Regions from separate parts of the Homo sapiens genome. Here regions 1, 2, 3, 4 and 5 are each linked to region 6. The links are contacts of gene promoters, found by promoter capture Hi-C in blood cells and fetal thymus (Javierre and others, 2016). All regions are on one chromosome and are shown on one strand. Each heading gives the region's core, a stretch centred on a gene start or on the middle of the fragment in contact. The rest is flanking DNA. Distances are from core to core; before and after follow the strand shown. Region 1 overlaps LINC02942 (long intergenic non-protein coding RNA 2942). Region 2 overlaps LINC02942 (long intergenic non-protein coding RNA 2942). Region 3 overlaps CD55 (CD55 molecule (Cromer blood group)). Region 4 overlaps CD55 (CD55 molecule (Cromer blood group)). Region 5 overlaps LINC02942 (long intergenic non-protein coding RNA 2942). Region 6 holds the start of C4BPA (complement component 4 binding protein alpha).

Region 1 (2,700 bases), core at 197-2,696, 200 kb after region 6:
TCGGGGTTCCTGACTTCCCGCAATAGCTGGATTGGTATTTTTTAACCATTTCTTTTACTTTAAATGGAATTTAAATATAATTTAAATTTTAAATGGAAAATGAACTATAATCTGGTAAATGGCATGCAGTTTGTTACCTTGCTTGCATATTTTGTCTTATTTTCTGCCCTTTGAGTTTATGTTAGTCTTAGGCTCTACATCATTCTTCTCTATGCCTGATAGAATGGTTTGTTTGTACCGCCCTGCAATATATTTAATATTATGATGGGACATATTATGTACCATGCCCAGATCCTATGACTCACAATTAATAGGAAAGATTAAGAGACATTACTCATTCATTTATAGCTAAGTGACGTGTTATTTTATTGTTTTATTTATTTTATTATAAGCCCATAAGATGATGGCTGTTACGTACATAACACCTAGACCAAGATTGCTAATCAAAGGAAAGGGAACTAAACTAAATCTCTGTTCTTGGCAGCGTCACTCATTGTCCATTCATTCATATGTTTATTGACTCTATCTTATATGTCATGCACTGTATTAGTTGAGCGGTAATATGACTCATTCCTAAGCTTTGTCCTTGAGAGGCCATGGTCTAGTGGCAAAAACAATTACAGATATTTGTTAAATGTTATAATAGAATATTGTTCAAGGTGTGTGGGAAGGTTACGGAAGACTTCCTGAAGCTGATAATAGTTAATCTCCATCCTGAAGTAAAATGAGTTAGGCAGGTATATAAATAAATCACATCTTAGGTAAAGGGCAAAGCAGCTGAGGTGGAAAGGCTGGAGCCTAGGCAAGCAATGCACATCACGTTCTGGAAGCAGCATGCAGACTGCCAGTTTGCACCCTCCACACATCATATCTGCTTATCCTGAAATTACACTGGACTTTGTGGATCCTTCGCAGCAGAAAAGGCTTCACTAAGAAACACTGAAACATATTCAGATTTCAGCTGCTAAATTAAAACTACTGACATTTCTCAAAGAATCTGGTTTGTCCATTAAGTGCAAGCTGATATCATCACAGAAATTTTTTATCTTGGGAGCACCTTTTGGAAACTTAGACTCCAGTTACGTATTTGAAATAGCGAAAACCTTTGTCAAACAGCCCTTCAATCCGATGCAAAACCATTAGTGCTTTGTGCGCACATTGGGCAACTGTGATCCTTCAGGATTGGCTGCTCTCGAGAAAGAAAACTCCCTATGGGCCACCACACCCCCTACTTTATCCATGGGGAAGCAGCGGTATCAAATGGCCAATGGTCCTAGTTCCTGGCACAAAGTAGAAGCATGATAAACATTAGTGATTAAACATATTAAACATGGAAAACATAAAATTAGTGATTAAAAATTAGTCTAAATCCATGTCTTACCAGGTGGATTGTTATCTCCAGCAAACCCTGGGCCTTGAATTCACTTTTTGTCAAGGAATTTTATTAAGAAACATGAGTCATATCTGAATATTTTTAAAAATATAAATTACAAGTTAATTGGCTTTGCAAAAGACATATGTTGATGTACTTTGTTGCATTTTAGGTAGCATTTTGGTTAAGAAGAGCCCCCTCTTTAAGCCATTTAAGAGGGAAAAGCTGATTCACAGTTTGCCTTATTTGCTAGGTATTTCTATTCCAGGGGCAAAGAAGATTATTCAACATATACTTCTGTTCTCTATTTTGACATATCCAGTTTTTCCAAAGTTCCTAGCCAGATGCTAAATTCATATAGCTGATAAAGGAGTCTCTGTTCTTAAGATGATAATAGAGAGCATTTCATGAAATGGTTAAGCAGTAACACATATACATAGTATATGTATATATATATATAGTGACTTCTGTTGAAAAAATAAGTGACTATTCGTATTTATTTTCACTCTTTCTCAAAATGCCACTAAAATTACAGTGTCATTTTAACTAAAATTAAAAATAATTTTTTAAAGGCATAAAAACACAAAAGAATAAATGGCAGAGGAGATGCAGAAAGGTGTTTGAATTGTTACCGATTTAGCAGAAAGTAGAAAGCTAAAACCTTCCTGCCTGTAGCCAGTCTGTTTATGCTGCAGAACCCCAGAAAGGCTCAGAAATTGGAGGCACAAAGAACCTTTGGAGATTAGGAATTAAACTGAAAATAGGAGGATCAGTTGAAAGTGTATATAAAGTCGACAGACCTGAAGGACGCTTCTCATATGCAGAGCATTTAGGAGACTATTATCATGCTTTTACTTTCTGCCAGGAACTAGGACCATTGGCCATTTGATACAGCTGCTTCCCTGTGGATAAAGTAGTGGGGTGGGGTGTGGTGACCCGTGGGAAGCTTTCTTTCTCGAGAGCAGCCAATCCTGAAGGATCCCAGTTGCTCAATGTGCGCACAAAGCACTAATGGTTTTGCTTCTAATTGAAGTGCTGTTTGACAAAGAAGGTTTTTGCCATTTCTCCTATCCAGAGAAGAGGCAAGGGGCATTAAATGGAAAAATCAAAATCAGAGTAGTTCTCAACTCTAGGAAAACTGACAGTGAAAGAAGAAGGGTAGGAAAGGCAAACATTGAATGGTGAGACCTGTAACTCCCTGGTGAGACTAAGATCCCAGAATGTTGGTAGCCAGGCTTATACCTCTCTGTTCCATTCCAGGTGAGACTTCAGAGGATTTCTTTTTAGGGAAATGAATGAGACTAAGAGAAAATACTTTTAGATGCTAA
Region 2 (2,700 bases), core at 51-2,550, 160 kb after region 6:
CAAGCTTTTCCAGGCATAGTTCATTCTACTTCCAGGGCCACCTTGCCACTGGTATAAATTCTCTTTCCACGGCTCAAAATTTATATCAAGATTCTTATTTATTTATATATTTAATGGGTACAACATGGTGCTTGGATGTACATATACACAGTGAAATAACTACTACAGTCAAACAAATGTAAATATTCATCACTTTCCATAGTTACCTATGTGTGCTAAGAGCACCTAAAATCTATTCTGTTAGCAAATTTTCAGTATACAATACAATATTATTAACCATAGTCTCCATACTGTATTTTAGAGCTCTAGACTTATCATCCAATTTAACTGCAAATTTGTACCCTTTGACATACCTCTATTTCCTCCCCCTCCTTACCCCTGGTAACCACTGTTCTACTCTCTGTTTTTATTTAAAACTCCTAGAAGAAAACATGGGAAGAGCTCTTTGATACTGGTCTTGGAAATGACTTTTGGCCATCACCCCAAAAGCACAGTGACAAAAGCAAAAATAAACAAGTAGGATTACATCAAACTAAAAAGATTCTGCATAGCGAAAGAAATAACAAAATGAAAAGGCAGCCTGCAGACAGGGAGAAAATATTTGCAAACCATATATCTAACAAAGGGTTAATATCCAAACATATAAGGGACTCACACACCTCAATAGCAAAAAACCCTCAATAATTCAATTTAAAAATGGGCAAAGGAATGAAGTAGACATTTTTCCAAAGAGGGCATATGAATGGCCAACAGTTATATGAAAAGGTACTCAGTATCACTAGTCTTCAGGGAACTGCAAATCAAAACCACAATGAGATTATCACTTCACCCCTGTTAGGATGGCCATTATAAAAAAGTCAAGGAATAAGTGTTGGAGAGAATATGGAGAACAGAGAACCCTTAGACACTATTGGTGTGAATGTAAATTGGTATAGCCGTTATGAAAAAAAACATAGATTTTCCTCAAAAAATTAAAACTAGAACTACTATATGACCAGGCAATCCCTATGCTGGGTATATATACCCAAACAAAAGGAAATCAGCACTTTGTAGAAATATCAGTGCTTCCACATTCACTGCAGCATTATTTATGATGGACAAGAAATGGAATCAACTTATGTGCCCATTAATGGATGAATGGATAGAGTAAATGTGATATATATACACAATGGTATATTATTCGGGCTTCAAAAAGAGGGAGGTCCTGCCATTTGTAACAACACGGAGAACCTGGTAGACATTATGCTAACTGAAATAAGGCAGGCAAAGAAAGACAAATACTGCATGATCTTACTTATATGTGGCATCTAAAAAACTCAAGATTCCCTTTAAAAGTCCTCTTCAATGCTCCCCACATCTGTGTTGACTGAAAATGTATCAAGTTGATCCTGAAATAACTCCTTCACTGCTTCCCAATGTGCAGGCAATAAAAATTAGGTATCAACTCACCTGCACGGTGTTTTTTCTATATCATCTTTATCCTCTCACTCACAACACACCCATTTTATAAAGTATTGTTTTCATCCTTGACACCACACCAAACCAATGAACACTGCCAAAAACTTCAGCTTCTTGTAAATATGTGATAGATCTTTCTGGAAGATCTTCAGAGCATTTTCTAAAAGGTGAAAGAATGGGATACAATACATGTTCCTTCAGTTCCTAAGACCCTGAAGAGAAGGAACCAAGTCAGAAAACTCATGGGCTCACCTGCAGATGCATATGCATATGCAAAATGCAACTCTGGTGAGTCCAAAATAGTCCACTCAATGGCTTCTGTTCATGCAGCACCCCGAGCCACAGGCTGAAACCAGGGTGAGGCAAGTGAGGTACTCACCTTGAGCATAAAATGTAAGGGGGACATCAACAACTTGGTAACCAACATAAATAATATTTTAGTGTAATATTTTGAAAAATCAAAATTATTGCCCCCCAAATCATGATGAACAGTTCATGAAGGAATTGATGAAACTAATAAATAGAATTAGACATAAATAAACATGAATTAATAACCAATTCAGTAACCAATTTACGGGGATTAATGATTCTAAATTGTAAATTGCGGGTTGTAGGATAGGAAATGAGGACTGAAAAGAAAAAAAACACTAGGATTTCAAGCCTGCCTGAAAATAACATCATTATCGAGAGAATGGCCATCCAGTTTGGGAGTAAATTGACAGTTCAGTTCCAGACCTATAATGAAAAATAAAAGTAGCACTTAGAGAATTTTATATTGAAAGGAAGAAGAAAAACAGGATGTAATATGAGGGGGCACCAACTACCAGCAAAATCGATTTCATGTTATAGAGTGTTTTAAAGTCAATTAGTGATGATAGGTTATAATGGAGGGATGAAACACCCAAAGGAAGACAAAGAGAAAGGAAATAAGAGAGGTATTGTCACATAGTCACAGACAAAGAAATAATAGGAGGAAGAAATATGGGTGGGGTTGCACTGAATGCACTCCACTTTCGCCAAGTAGGAGGGTAATAATCCAAGGGTGGATGCAGTGAGAAGGGCAGGGTCATAGCTTGAGTACAGCAAGAAATCATGACCCAGCCCTGTGGAATAAACAGAGGAATCATAAAAAAATGCATAAGCTTTTTGGAATAAACAGAGGACTCCTGAAAATTGCATAAGTCTTGGAAAGTAGATGAACTGCAAGAAAAAAAAGATGAAGAAAAAAACAAGGAATTTATA
Region 3 (2,795 bases), core at 167-2,666, 220 kb after region 6:
ATTGGCATTATCTTGGAGGAAAAAAATCTGTTACTTACATAGCCCTGTATTAGCTTTGAGATATATGAGTAGAGATAAAGATAAAGAGACCCGATAACCTGACTTTGAACAACTTAAATCAATAGAAGCTACTGTAAATACAGAAATTGGCACAAATACCTTTAGAAGCCATGCGTGAAATAGGCTTTAACTTTTTATTTTTATCCACAATAGAGGCAGTAGGATGAAGTACATAGTCTTTGCACATGTATCATGTTTTAACTCTTCCCCATGTTATTACTTTATCCAATCCTCCAAACAACCTTATGAGGTAAGTTGGGGCTCTTACACTCTTTTTATGGCGGAGGAGACAGACCCCAGTAGTTTAATAACTTCCTCAAGAGCAGCAGCTTTTACGCCAAAACCAAGGTGTAAACTTGGGTCTTCTGACTACAAATCCAATGATGACCCTTCCACTTGACCATGCCTCTCTAGATTCACATTTGTGGGCAATCTGTTTACAGATGTAAATACTTTATGTATACAATTTGTGGGCAATCTGTTTACAGGTGTAAATACTTTATGTATACAATTGACTCATCCTTGCCCCCAGGGCTCATGGGAATTAAATGAGTTTGTACGTAAATAAATATTAGCTGCTATTATTGTTGTGCAGGACATTAGTCCAGGGGTCTGGAAATACCCTATTCCTGTACTGTATGGTGCTGTGTAGTTCTTTAGGGCAGGGTAAGGAAACCAACATTTATTGAATGCCAGAACTGGGCCAGGCAACTTAAATTTTTTTTTTTTTTTAAGTGGGGATAGTGATATGTGTGTACCAACTCTACTTCCTAAGCCTCTAGTAACTAGGAAACAAAGTATACATGTGAATACATTTGCTACATTGCAAGTGCCATGGTGATATTAATATAGTTAAGTACTAAATATGCGCAAAGCAGTAAAGAAAGGGGGTTATTAGGGTCCAGATAATTAAATATAGATTATAAAACAAAAATTGATACTACATTTTTTGTTGCTGCTTTTGTTAATACTTTTAGGTAGCTGCGAGGTGCCAACAAGGCTAAATTCTGCATCCCTCAAACAGCCTTATATCACTCAGAATTATTTTCCAGTCGGTACTGTTGTGGAATATGAGTGCCGTCCAGGTTACAGAAGAGAACCTTCTCTATCACCAAAACTAACTTGCCTTCAGAATTTAAAATGGTCCACAGCAGTCGAATTTTGTAAAAGTGAGTAAAATTTTTTAAAGTATTTTCAACCATCTGGTGTTTGGGGGAAATAGTATCCCTTCCTTCATTCATGCTAGAACTCTATGTGTATATATTATTATATAGGATGTTTCTTGATAGGACCATGAGTGTCAATTTATTTTGAATTAGACTAAATATTTATGTGGTAGGAATACTTATTCATTCAAAAATTTCACATTTAATTAGTTTGAGGTTACCTAAAATAAAACAAGTATATATTCTAAATTCGTTGCTTTTTCAAAACTTATTATAAAGAGAAATTAGAATTAAAGAAGTCTAAGGGTCAGGCATGGTGGCTCATACCTGTAATCCCAGCACTTTGGGAGACAGAGGCAGGTGGACCACTTGAGGTCAGGAGATTGAGAGTAGCCTGGCCAACATGATGAAACCCTGACTCTACTAAAAATACAAAAACTAGCTGGGTGTGGTGGCGCATGCCTGTAATCCCAGCTTCTTGGAAGGCTGAGGCAGGAGAATCCCTTGAACCTGGGAGGCAGAGGTTGCAGTGAGCTGAGATTATGTCACCGCGCTCCAGCCTGGGCAACAGAGCAAAACTCCATCTCAAAAAAAAAAAAAAAAAAGTCTAAGGATAAGAAATATCAATGGTTCAGATGATGAATTTACATATATGTGCTTGATAATTTTTTCAAAATTTTTACCTGAGCTTTATTGAGGTATAATCGACAAATATTATCTTAGGTGTACAACATGATGTTTTGATATATGTGCACATTGTGAAATGATTAACACAGTCAAGCTAATTAACATATCTACCACCTCACATAGTTACCTTCTTTGTGTGTATGCCTGATAATTTAATTTTAAAAAATCAATTTGTATTCTATTCTAGAGAAATCATGCCCTAATCCGGGAGAAATACGAAATGGTCAGATTGATGTACCAGGTGGCATATTATTTGGTGCAACCATCTCCTTCTCATGTAACACAGGGTAAGTTTGGGCATACTAAAACCCTGTATTTAGGAAATGAGAAAACAAATTAGGACTTAAGGTGAGATTGTTAGTTTCATGACTGGTATTCACAGCTAGTAGCAATTAAAACAATCCCTCTCCTCAAAGACCCTTCATCATGAGCTCATCACAGTTAAATTTAGTAAAATGGGGGCAAGAAAGGAAGATTTCTTAAACCACCAGAATTCTCTAAATTCTGATTTCAGTAAATATGTGATTCAATATAAAATTTTAAATGTGATTAATAAAAAAATTTGAGATGATGATACTTGCAGAAATCTTCAAATGTTAAATACTAAACCAATCTTTAGTTGACCTAAATAATGAATTTGCATGAGTTTTTCTATATGCAAACAAGCTGTTACAAAACAGCATGAGTTAAAGACATTCCTAGTGTGAAAGTATTCTAAGTTCTTTGATAAGTTCTCTGTATAGGGAGAAGGAACTCATTCATTGAGTACCATCAATGTCTCAGACACTGTTGAAAACTTTACATTTATTTTCTCATTTCATATCTGTAAATTAAATAATTCTATTTTACTCTGTGTGTGTCCCTATTCTTTATAAAGTAAAA
Region 4 (2,700 bases), core at 182-2,681, 250 kb after region 6:
AGTATTCTAGGTTTAAACTCATATCATCTGTGAAGAGAGATAGTTTACTTCCTCTCTTCCTATATGGATGCCTTTTATTTCCTTGCCTGATTGCTGTGGCTAGGATTTCCAGTACCATGTTGAATAGGAATGATAATAATGGACATCCTTGTCTTGTACTGGTTTTCAAGGTGAATGCTTCCAGCTTTTGCTCATTCAGTATGATGTTGGCTGTGGGTTTTTCCTGGCGGCTCTTATTATTTTGTGGTATGTTCCTTTGATGCCTAGTTTGTTGATGACTTTTAACATGAAGGGATGTTGAATGTTGTCAAAAGCCTTTTCTACAACAATTGAGATGATCATGTGGTTTTTTTGTTTGTAGTTCTGTTTATGTGATGAATCACATTTATTGATTTGGATATGTTGAGCCAACCTTGCATCCCAGGAATAAAGCCTACTTGATCGTGGTAAGTTAGGTATTTGATGTGCTGCTGGATTTGATCTGCTAGTATTTTGTTGAGGATTTTTGCATTTACTTTCATCAGGGATGTTGGCCTGAAGTTTTCTTTTTTTGTCCTGTCTCTTTGCCAGATTTTGGTATCAGTGTGATGCTGGCCTTATAGAATGAGGAGTCCCTCCTCCTTGATTTTTGGCATAGTTTCAGTATGATTGGTACCGGCTCTTGTTTGTATGTTTGGTGGAATTTGTCTGTGAATCCATCTGGTACAGGGCTCTTTCTGGTTGGTAGGTTTTTTAAATTACTGATTCAATTTAAGAACTTGTTATTGGTCTGTTCAGGTATTTAATTTCTTCCTGGTTCAATCTTAGGAGGTTGTATTTTTCCAAGAATTTACCATTTCTTCTACGTTTTCTAGTTTATGTACATAGAGGTGTTCAAAATAGTCTCTGAGGGTGTTTTGTATTTCTGTGGGGTTGGTGGTAATGTCCCCTTTGTCATCTGAGATTGTGTTTATTTGGATGTTCTCTCTCTTTATTAATCTAGCTAGTTGTCTATCAATCTTATTTATTCTTTCAAAAAACCAGCTTTGGTTTTGTTGATCTTTTGTATGGATTTTTGCATCTCAATTTTATTCAGTTCAGCTCTGATTTTGGTTATTTTTTTTCTTCTGCTAGCTTTTGGGTTGGTTTGCTCTTGTTTTTTCTACATCCTCTAGAGGTGATGTTACTTTGTTAATTTGAGATTTTTCTAACATTTTGATGTAGGTGTTTAATGCTACAAACTTTCCTCTTGACATTGTTCTGGCTGTGTCCCAGACACTCTGGTATGTTGTATCTTTGTTTTCACTAGTTTCAAAGAATTTCTTGATTTCTGCCTTAATTTTCAGAATGCCAAAAGTCATTCAGGATTAGGTTGTTTAATTTCCATGTTATTGTATAGTTTTAAGAGATCTTCCTGGTATTGATTTATATTTTATGCTGTGGCCTAAGAGTATGGTTAGTATGATTTTGGTTTTTTGAATTTGTTTAAAATTGCTTTATGGTTGAGCATGTGGTCAATCTTAGAGTATGTGCTATGTGCAGATGAGAAGAATGTATATCCTGTTGTTCTTGGGTGTAATGTTATGTAGATGTCTGTTAAGTCCATTTGGTCAAGTGTCAAGTTTAGGTCATGAATATCTTTGTTAGTTTTCTGCCTTGATTATGTGTCTAACATTGTCAATGGGGTGTTGAAGTCTCCCACTATATTGTGTGGTTATTTCCATCTCTTCATAGGTCTTTAAGAACTTGTCTTATGAATCTGGATGATCCAGTGTTGGATCTGAAAAGAGTAATAAAAACATTATCATTACTATCATTATTATTTATTGTGGTTATTTTATATTTTGAATGAACTTCTAAGCTAAAAGATTTATCTTGAAAGATTCCAACTGTTGGAATTCACTTTGTTTTAAATAGAAATAAATGTGTTTCAAATGAAAGTCTGATGATTTAATGATCACAAAAGTGATGAGTTTAATAAATGAGTTTTTTCTCACCTGCTCAATGGCACTCAATGAAGGTTTGAAATGCCTTTTTTTCCTGAAATTCTTTAAGTATTATACCCTTTGATTTTCTAGAAAACTTTCCTTAGTCGGCATTCCAGCTTGTGTTAAAAAATAAAGAGGAAGTCCTTCCTTCTTAAACTGGACATATGGCAACATTTTTTGTGTGTGATTTCATATTTGTAGGACATAAACCTGAAAATTATATTCATTAAATTTATTATGTGAATGAGGTTACTCTTCTTTAAAGATAAATTAACTCTACTGCAAGAAAATTGTTTCATCAATTACACTGCAATGTAAGTAAAATGATACAGATGATCTTTGAATTTTGGAAGTATTTGATTTTTTTTTCCTATTCTGCTAAGGAAGAAAGACTGACTAATGTTACAGAACTTTCTAATTTGCCTTGTAAATGAAGCATGTGTTGTGAATTTTAAATCTTTTCTTCCGTTGGCTTTGTATAAGTGTTTCCCAATTTTTTTTTGTGGGGGGTGGGGGGTGCGTTAATTCTTGCTCTCTTCTCACCAAAGACCTTTTTAGACATTTTTTTTTGATCATCCTCCACCACACATATACTGTAAATCAGTTTATGTATCACATATATATCTGCACTCTGTACTTAAAAAAGGAAAATTTTTTTTTAACTTTCATCAGGTATCACCCCCATTGAGAATGCTTGCTTTCTGTTGGTTTTGTTTTTATTGTTTTTAAAGAC
Region 5 (2,752 bases), core at 54-2,553, 180 kb after region 6:
TTTCGCTTTCCAGGTAAACCCAGACCTTTAAAGTGAAAGCATCATCACAGTCTCAGGACTAAGATTCAATGCTGACCTTTAGCTGTTTTCATTGCAGGATATTAGCTCACCAGACAGCTGGGTGAGATAACCTCTCTTTTAAAATAAAGCAACCCTAAGGGATTGGAGCAGCAATAATTACCCTCTTATTTCTGCAAGAAACATTTATTACATTTGAAGCTGGCCTCATGATAGTCAGTATTTGCTTGAAAAACAGATGTGTTAGTTCCATCTGGACTGGGCTAATGCTTGAATCTTGTCATTAACAATGTATTTGTGTTCGTCATTCCTCGTTTTCTGCATATTTTTAAGGAATTTTTCCTAATAAGGGAAAAGTTATCGAGCCACATTTGCTTGTAGCAGATTTTTTTAAGAGTCAAGAATAACAATAAAGAACTGGACAATTTATGTTGGAGAAAGCAATGGAATTGTTAGTGGGAATAGGAGAGTGACTATGTGAGTACATTTAGGACAAACATTACCTACAGCCAATATGCCTAGAATTGGCCATAATTGGTTTTTGTGACCAAATTTCTTTTCATTTTGCAAATGGGAATGGCCTTTAAGGTTGAAATCAGAGTGCCACAGGAATATTACTTAACAAGCTTTTAACCCCAACTTTTAGCAAAATTTATATAACTAGCACATTATGTGTTTTACTTAGCTTTCAATGTCACTGCAGTTGGAAAATAAGTTTTGCCTTCTTTCTTCCATGGCCTGCTCTTCCCCAAACAATGCCTGTTTGATTTTTACTGAAGTCAGTCTTGTGAAGATTAATAGCCAGAATCACAAAAACAGTTTGCTAGTTGGGCTCTAGAGTCCAAAATGTTGAGGGAATCAATTTCGTCTGATGGGACTACCAGAAGAGAAGAGAGGAAGAATTGTTCATTAATTAAGCAAGTATTTAATGAGAGTGTAATATGGGCTTATTGAAGCAGATGTCACTAGAACATAAAGGGAAGGCTAAAACAAGGCCTCCATCCTTTCACAAGTCAAATCTACTTGAGGAGATGAGATATCAATATCAGAATAACTAAGTGGAAGCAGAGAGTATTTTGGTTGAATGTCAGTGCAATGTATAGGAATTTGGGGTCAAGAAAGACCATGAATTTCCTTCCATGGCTGGAAGGATTTGTAGAGGAGGTAAGACTTTACCCTTAAACTTTACACTTAATAATTTCTTCTTTCCCTTGAGTTTGCCTAAGAATTTTGAATAATTTTTCAAGACCCCTATTAGTCTAACTAAGGACAGAAAAAAATCAACATGGCAGGCCTGCGCGTCAATGAGATTTCTGAAAAAAGATTAGCCGTCACTGACATGATTATTTTACATTTGCTGAACCCTGTTGATACTCAAACCTCAGGAGAAAAGGTTGTTGTCTTCTGTAGGGTATCCAGAACCAAGCAAAAGTCTGCCTTTGTGACTCTGGGAGTATCATTATATACAGCTGATGCTTTTCCATTTCAGTTTCATCCAGTTATGCCTAGAGCCCAGCCAAAGGCATTTTAGGATACCCGGCAGTCTCTTTCCATAGTAGGGAATTAAGATCAGATACTTCTTTTCATTCTTCACAGGAGCCTGTTTCCATGTGAAACTGGGCAGAGTTGAGCCTGCCAAAAGGCATGCTCTCTGGATGTTGAAGAGAAATTTGCAGAAAAAGGAACGTATCAACTCCACAAGATTTCAAAATACGGTGGGCACAGGGAATGGAAATTCTAAGGATGTAGAGGATTAAATATATATGAAAAAAAAAAAAAAAACCAGAACAAGGACTTGTCCTGCAGAGGGAATGCCCATGAATTCTCTCATACTCATAGAACAATGAGTGCTGTGTGGAAGGTAACGGTCTCAGTGGTATCTTAGTTCTTAGCTGCGCACCTGCCTTTCATCTTCCTGTGTGGCTTTCTCTCTAGTTCCAGTAAGGAAGCTTTCTAGAGGTTTGAGTTGTTCAGATGTGTGTAATACACAACCTGCATGGTACACTTTATAAGCACTTTTCCTGAAGCAGCAGGTAGCTCTTGTGTCCCTCTTTCCCCCTTCACTAGCAAATCCTATTTCTTTCCTGCAATATTGTTGGCAAGACCCAGAGAGAGGAGTTTGTCAGGAACTCATCGGGTTTAGCACTGACCAAGCCACTATGAGATGCCTAGTTTAAGGGGCATGGCTGTTTTGGCCAGAATATGCCCTCTCCAGAGCTTCCCACTTTTAGTATTTGCAGTAAGGGATTTCTCAGGCAGTCAGTAAGTTGTTTCCAGTTATGAGAAAATATTAACTGCATCAGTGAAATGAAAAGATGTGGCACTTGGTCAGTAATTTCTTTGTGGCTCAGAATCAACAGTCATCACATTCTCAGCTTTCCATTTCTGGCAGTAAGAATGCAAAGTCTAAAACACAGCTCTGTAAAGTATTTCCATAGACATAACATGGGTGTGTGTCTCTCTCTTCAGATTCCCTCCTACAGAGTGCTCATTTCTTGTTACTTATCCTCTTTTGGATTTTAGCGTATTTGTTTTAAAGGATTGCAAATGAAAACCAACCCCTCCCCATGAATTCACCATAAAAGTCACAGACTTTTTTTAATGGAAAAGATGTTTTTCCTGCAGATTTTCATCTGGTTCACACATTTAAAAAGACTTGCTCAGCATAATTGTCTTTGGGTGGGCTGGTCACATTCAGGGATTCTACAAGTGAAAGGAGGATGCTATATCTGTT
Region 6 (2,700 bases), core at 32-2,531:
TCACACTAAAGAAGAAAGGTGGAATTTGAGGTATTGGCAAAATTGAAGGGACATTTCAGGATGAGAGATGCATTGAAAATGAGGCAGGAAAAGAAGAAACAATTCTCCTCGGAATGAGGAGTGAATAGGAGGGAAAATTTGACATTGATGAAGCTAAGGTAGAATGATTTTTAGTAAAGTAGGAGGTAAGAGCATCTGCTGAGAGGGAATGTGACAATTTGGTGACCTGGAGAGAAAAATCTGCAAGAGTCACTGTGGAAAGTAAACGAAAGGACTTCAATACATTGGAAAACGGTACTTTAAAGAAATAGCAGCTTTAAAGGTGATATTTCTTCCAATTTAGTCTCAAGACTGTGCAATCTGGAATCCTCCTCTATCTTCATTCTGGTCAAATCAGTGTCTCACCTTGGTGACCTAGCGCATGGTTTCTTTACATCTAATATCCTTACCACTTTTATCTAATAATTTCTACCTTTTATCCAAATCTCACATCTTCTGTAGAAACTTCCTTGATTAACTCAACCTGTTGTAGTTTAGTTCCTTTTCTGAAACTCTTCTGGGACTTTCAGTATTTATTACAGAAAAAGTGAAGTTCTCAGAAAGAATTGCCTTTTAATAGCAATCTTCTGAGCACACAAATCTTAACCTTGAGGATTAGTAGCTTAATTGGACTATGTAAGTGCTTGTGGTCTTTTTAGATCTATGCGAGAGGAAACATGGCCGGTCCTTCATTGCGTTCTTCTGAGCGCACTGGATAGATCAATTTTTGGAGGCCCTCTGGTGCCTGACATGTAGTAGCAGTTAACATTTGCTGAACTCCAAATACGTTCTAGATAACTCAGCACATAGTGGAAACCCAATGCATGTTTGATAAATTCCCCACCTTTTGTAATTCCTTGGGGTGGGATAGAGACGAGCTCTGGGCAAGAATATCAGTTTTCAAACTCCAGGAAAGCATACTGGACCTAGTGTCATGGAAAGTGGATCATTTTTGCGGAGGCTCTCTGAACCTCGCAGTATCCAAGGTTTCCAGGCTAGCTGGACTGTGTCTTGCCATAACCCTTATGTGTTTATGAAAAGAAAAAAGAATTCTGGCTTCAAATTCAAATTACCTTTCCACTTAGGGGAAATGGTTGGCAGAGGAGAAAATAAACGATTGCGACATGTTACGAAGAATGAGGACTAGCAAAGAGGAAGGAGCTTAGGTAAACAGTGCTGCTTTATTTCTGCTGTTAATCATTCATTGGGCCCGTCAAAAGTTTCTGCCCATCTATTTCCATCAACCGTCCTTGACCAGCCAACCACATGGCTGAAATTCAGGGACTCTTTGGTGGAGCAATTACCAGTCAACTTCAGGGTATTATGATAAACTCTGATCTGGGGAGGAACCAGGACTACATAGATCAAGGCAGTTTTCTTCTTTGAGAAACTATCCCAGATATCATCATAGAGTCTTCTGCTCTTCCTCAACTACCAAAGGTCGGTGGACTACTAAACCCTTGGGGAAGCTTGGAGGAAAGGCTGGTGGTTTGGCCCTTTAAGGAGTGCAGGATTAGAAGGATAAAACAGAGACAAAAGCTTGGAGGTGTTTTCAGCAGAAATCTTTTCAGGAGCACTGTATTAGGGGGATGTAAGACTTGAGACGTACTTTAAACCCTATCTGAACCTCAAGTTTTAAAAATTATAAATGGAGGAATAATATTGCATTCTAATAAAATAAGCTAAAGAAGAAGAGGTGTAAGGTGTTGCTCTTGTTACTGTATCTAAAAGACAGATGTGTTGGTTTGTTGATCTTTCACCACCTTCCCACATCAGAGTTGAGGCAAGGGGTCAATCAGACTTTTCAAAGGGTTCACAGGAAGCTTGCTTTTCTTAGTCTACATTCTGAAAACTGGGGCCATTTCTATTTTGAGATTTGATTAACCACTCCAAATCTCCTCCACCACTGACAGCAAAGATGTTTAGATTTGGTAATAAGGAGGACACTGGCCAGCCTCCAGTTGGTTTCTGAAGCTAGCAGTCTTAGTCGTCCTCATCTTCTTTACTTTCTGAATTTGACGATGCTGATAACCCTTCCTTCTTGAAATTCTCTTCTTCCTTGGTTGGCCAGGATACAGTACCATTCTGGTCCTCATTTTAATTCTTCAACCACTTGTCTCTTTGCTGATTCCTATTCTATCTCTAAATATGGTAACACCAAAAGAATAAAAAGTAGACTACAGAAGAGGCAGAAGCATCAAAGAAGGTTGGCATTAAGCTTAGAGATATGTTTGAATGTAGTATGAGCACAGAATAAAGGGGCTGATAGAAAAATAAAGAGATTTGGCCAGGTACGGTGGCTCACTCCTGTAATCCCAGCACTTTGGGAGGCCGAGGCTGGCGGATCACCTGAGGTCGGGAGTTCGAGACCAGCCTGACCAACATGGAGAACCCCTGTCTCTACTAAAATTACAAAATTAGCCAGGCATGGTGGCACATGTCTGTAATCCCAGCTACTTGGGAGGCTGAGGCAGGAGGATCATTTGAACCAGGGAGGCAGAGGTTGGGGTGAGCTGAGATCGTGCCATTGCACTCTAGTCTGGGCAACAAGAGTGAAACTCCACCTCAAAAAAAAAAAAAAAAGAAAAAAAAAAGAGATTCTAGGAAGGGTGGGGAAAGTGTGGGAGCCAGTTCTTTCTGGAGTTTGTAAGTGATATAATT

Evidence for each region. The method cuts DNA at HindIII sites, captures the fragments that hold promoters and counts their contacts. A CHiCAGO score of 5 or more calls a contact.
Region 1: a fragment that was not itself captured here is called in contact with the fragment with the promoter of C4BPA in region 6 in 12 of 17 cell types (monocytes, naive B cells, M1 macrophages and 9 more); the score reaches 9.6 in monocytes.
Region 2: a fragment that was not itself captured here is called in contact with the fragment with the promoter of C4BPA in region 6 in 2 of 17 cell types (monocytes and M2 macrophages); the score reaches 6.2 in monocytes.
Region 3: a contact is called between a fragment that was not itself captured here and the fragment with the promoter of C4BPA in region 6, in 7 of 17 cell types (monocytes, M2 macrophages, M1 macrophages and 4 more). The highest score is 8.4, in monocytes.
Region 4: a fragment that was not itself captured here is called in contact with the fragment with the promoter of C4BPA in region 6 in 12 of 17 cell types (naive B cells, neutrophils, monocytes and 9 more); the score reaches 9.7 in naive B cells.
Region 5: a fragment that was not itself captured here is called in contact with the fragment with the promoter of C4BPA in region 6 in 10 of 17 cell types (M2 macrophages, total B cells, erythroblasts and 7 more); the score reaches 8.6 in M2 macrophages.

The regions. Positions count from the first base shown.
Region 1 is chr1:207,304,509-207,307,208 of GRCh38, forward strand. All of the region lies in intron 3 of LINC02942 (long intergenic non-protein coding RNA 2942), which reads left to right. The region is part of intron 1 of LOC107985251 (a long non-coding RNA gene); the gene reads right to left. Among named protein-coding and RNA genes, the nearest start is that of CD55, 16 kb to the right of the region's middle. The HindIII fragment of the contact is 1,740 bases long and covers 577-2,316 here.
Region 2 is chr1:207,265,992-207,268,691 of GRCh38, forward strand. The region is part of intron 2 of LINC02942 (long intergenic non-protein coding RNA 2942); the gene reads left to right. All of the region lies in intron 1 of LOC107985251 (a long non-coding RNA gene), which reads right to left. Among named protein-coding and RNA genes, the nearest start is that of LINC02942, 27 kb to the left of the region's middle. The HindIII fragment of the contact is 2,596 bases long and covers 3-2,598 here.
Region 3 is chr1:207,323,522-207,326,316 of GRCh38, forward strand. It overlaps CD55 (CD55 molecule (Cromer blood group)), which reads left to right. Exons shown (of 10, transcript NM_000574.5): 3 at 1,038-1,229; 4 at 2,101-2,200. Among named protein-coding and RNA genes, the nearest start is that of CD55, 3.2 kb to the left of the region's middle. The HindIII fragment of the contact is 4,911 bases long and covers 1-2,795 here.
Region 4 is chr1:207,349,777-207,352,476 of GRCh38, forward strand. The region is part of intron 9 of CD55 (CD55 molecule (Cromer blood group)); the gene reads left to right. Among named protein-coding and RNA genes, the nearest start is that of CD55, 29 kb to the left of the region's middle. The HindIII fragment of the contact is 2,902 bases long and covers 1-2,700 here.
Region 5 is chr1:207,284,531-207,287,282 of GRCh38, forward strand. The region is part of intron 2 of LINC02942 (long intergenic non-protein coding RNA 2942); the gene reads left to right. The region is part of intron 1 of LOC107985251 (a long non-coding RNA gene); the gene reads right to left. Among named protein-coding and RNA genes, the nearest start is that of CD55, 36 kb to the right of the region's middle. The HindIII fragment of the contact is 1,323 bases long and covers 643-1,965 here.
Region 6 is chr1:207,102,952-207,105,651 of GRCh38, forward strand. It overlaps C4BPA (complement component 4 binding protein alpha), which reads left to right and starts at 1,282. Exons shown (of 12, transcript NM_000715.4): 1 at 1,282-1,479. The HindIII fragment of the contact is 2,080 bases long and covers 1-1,506 here.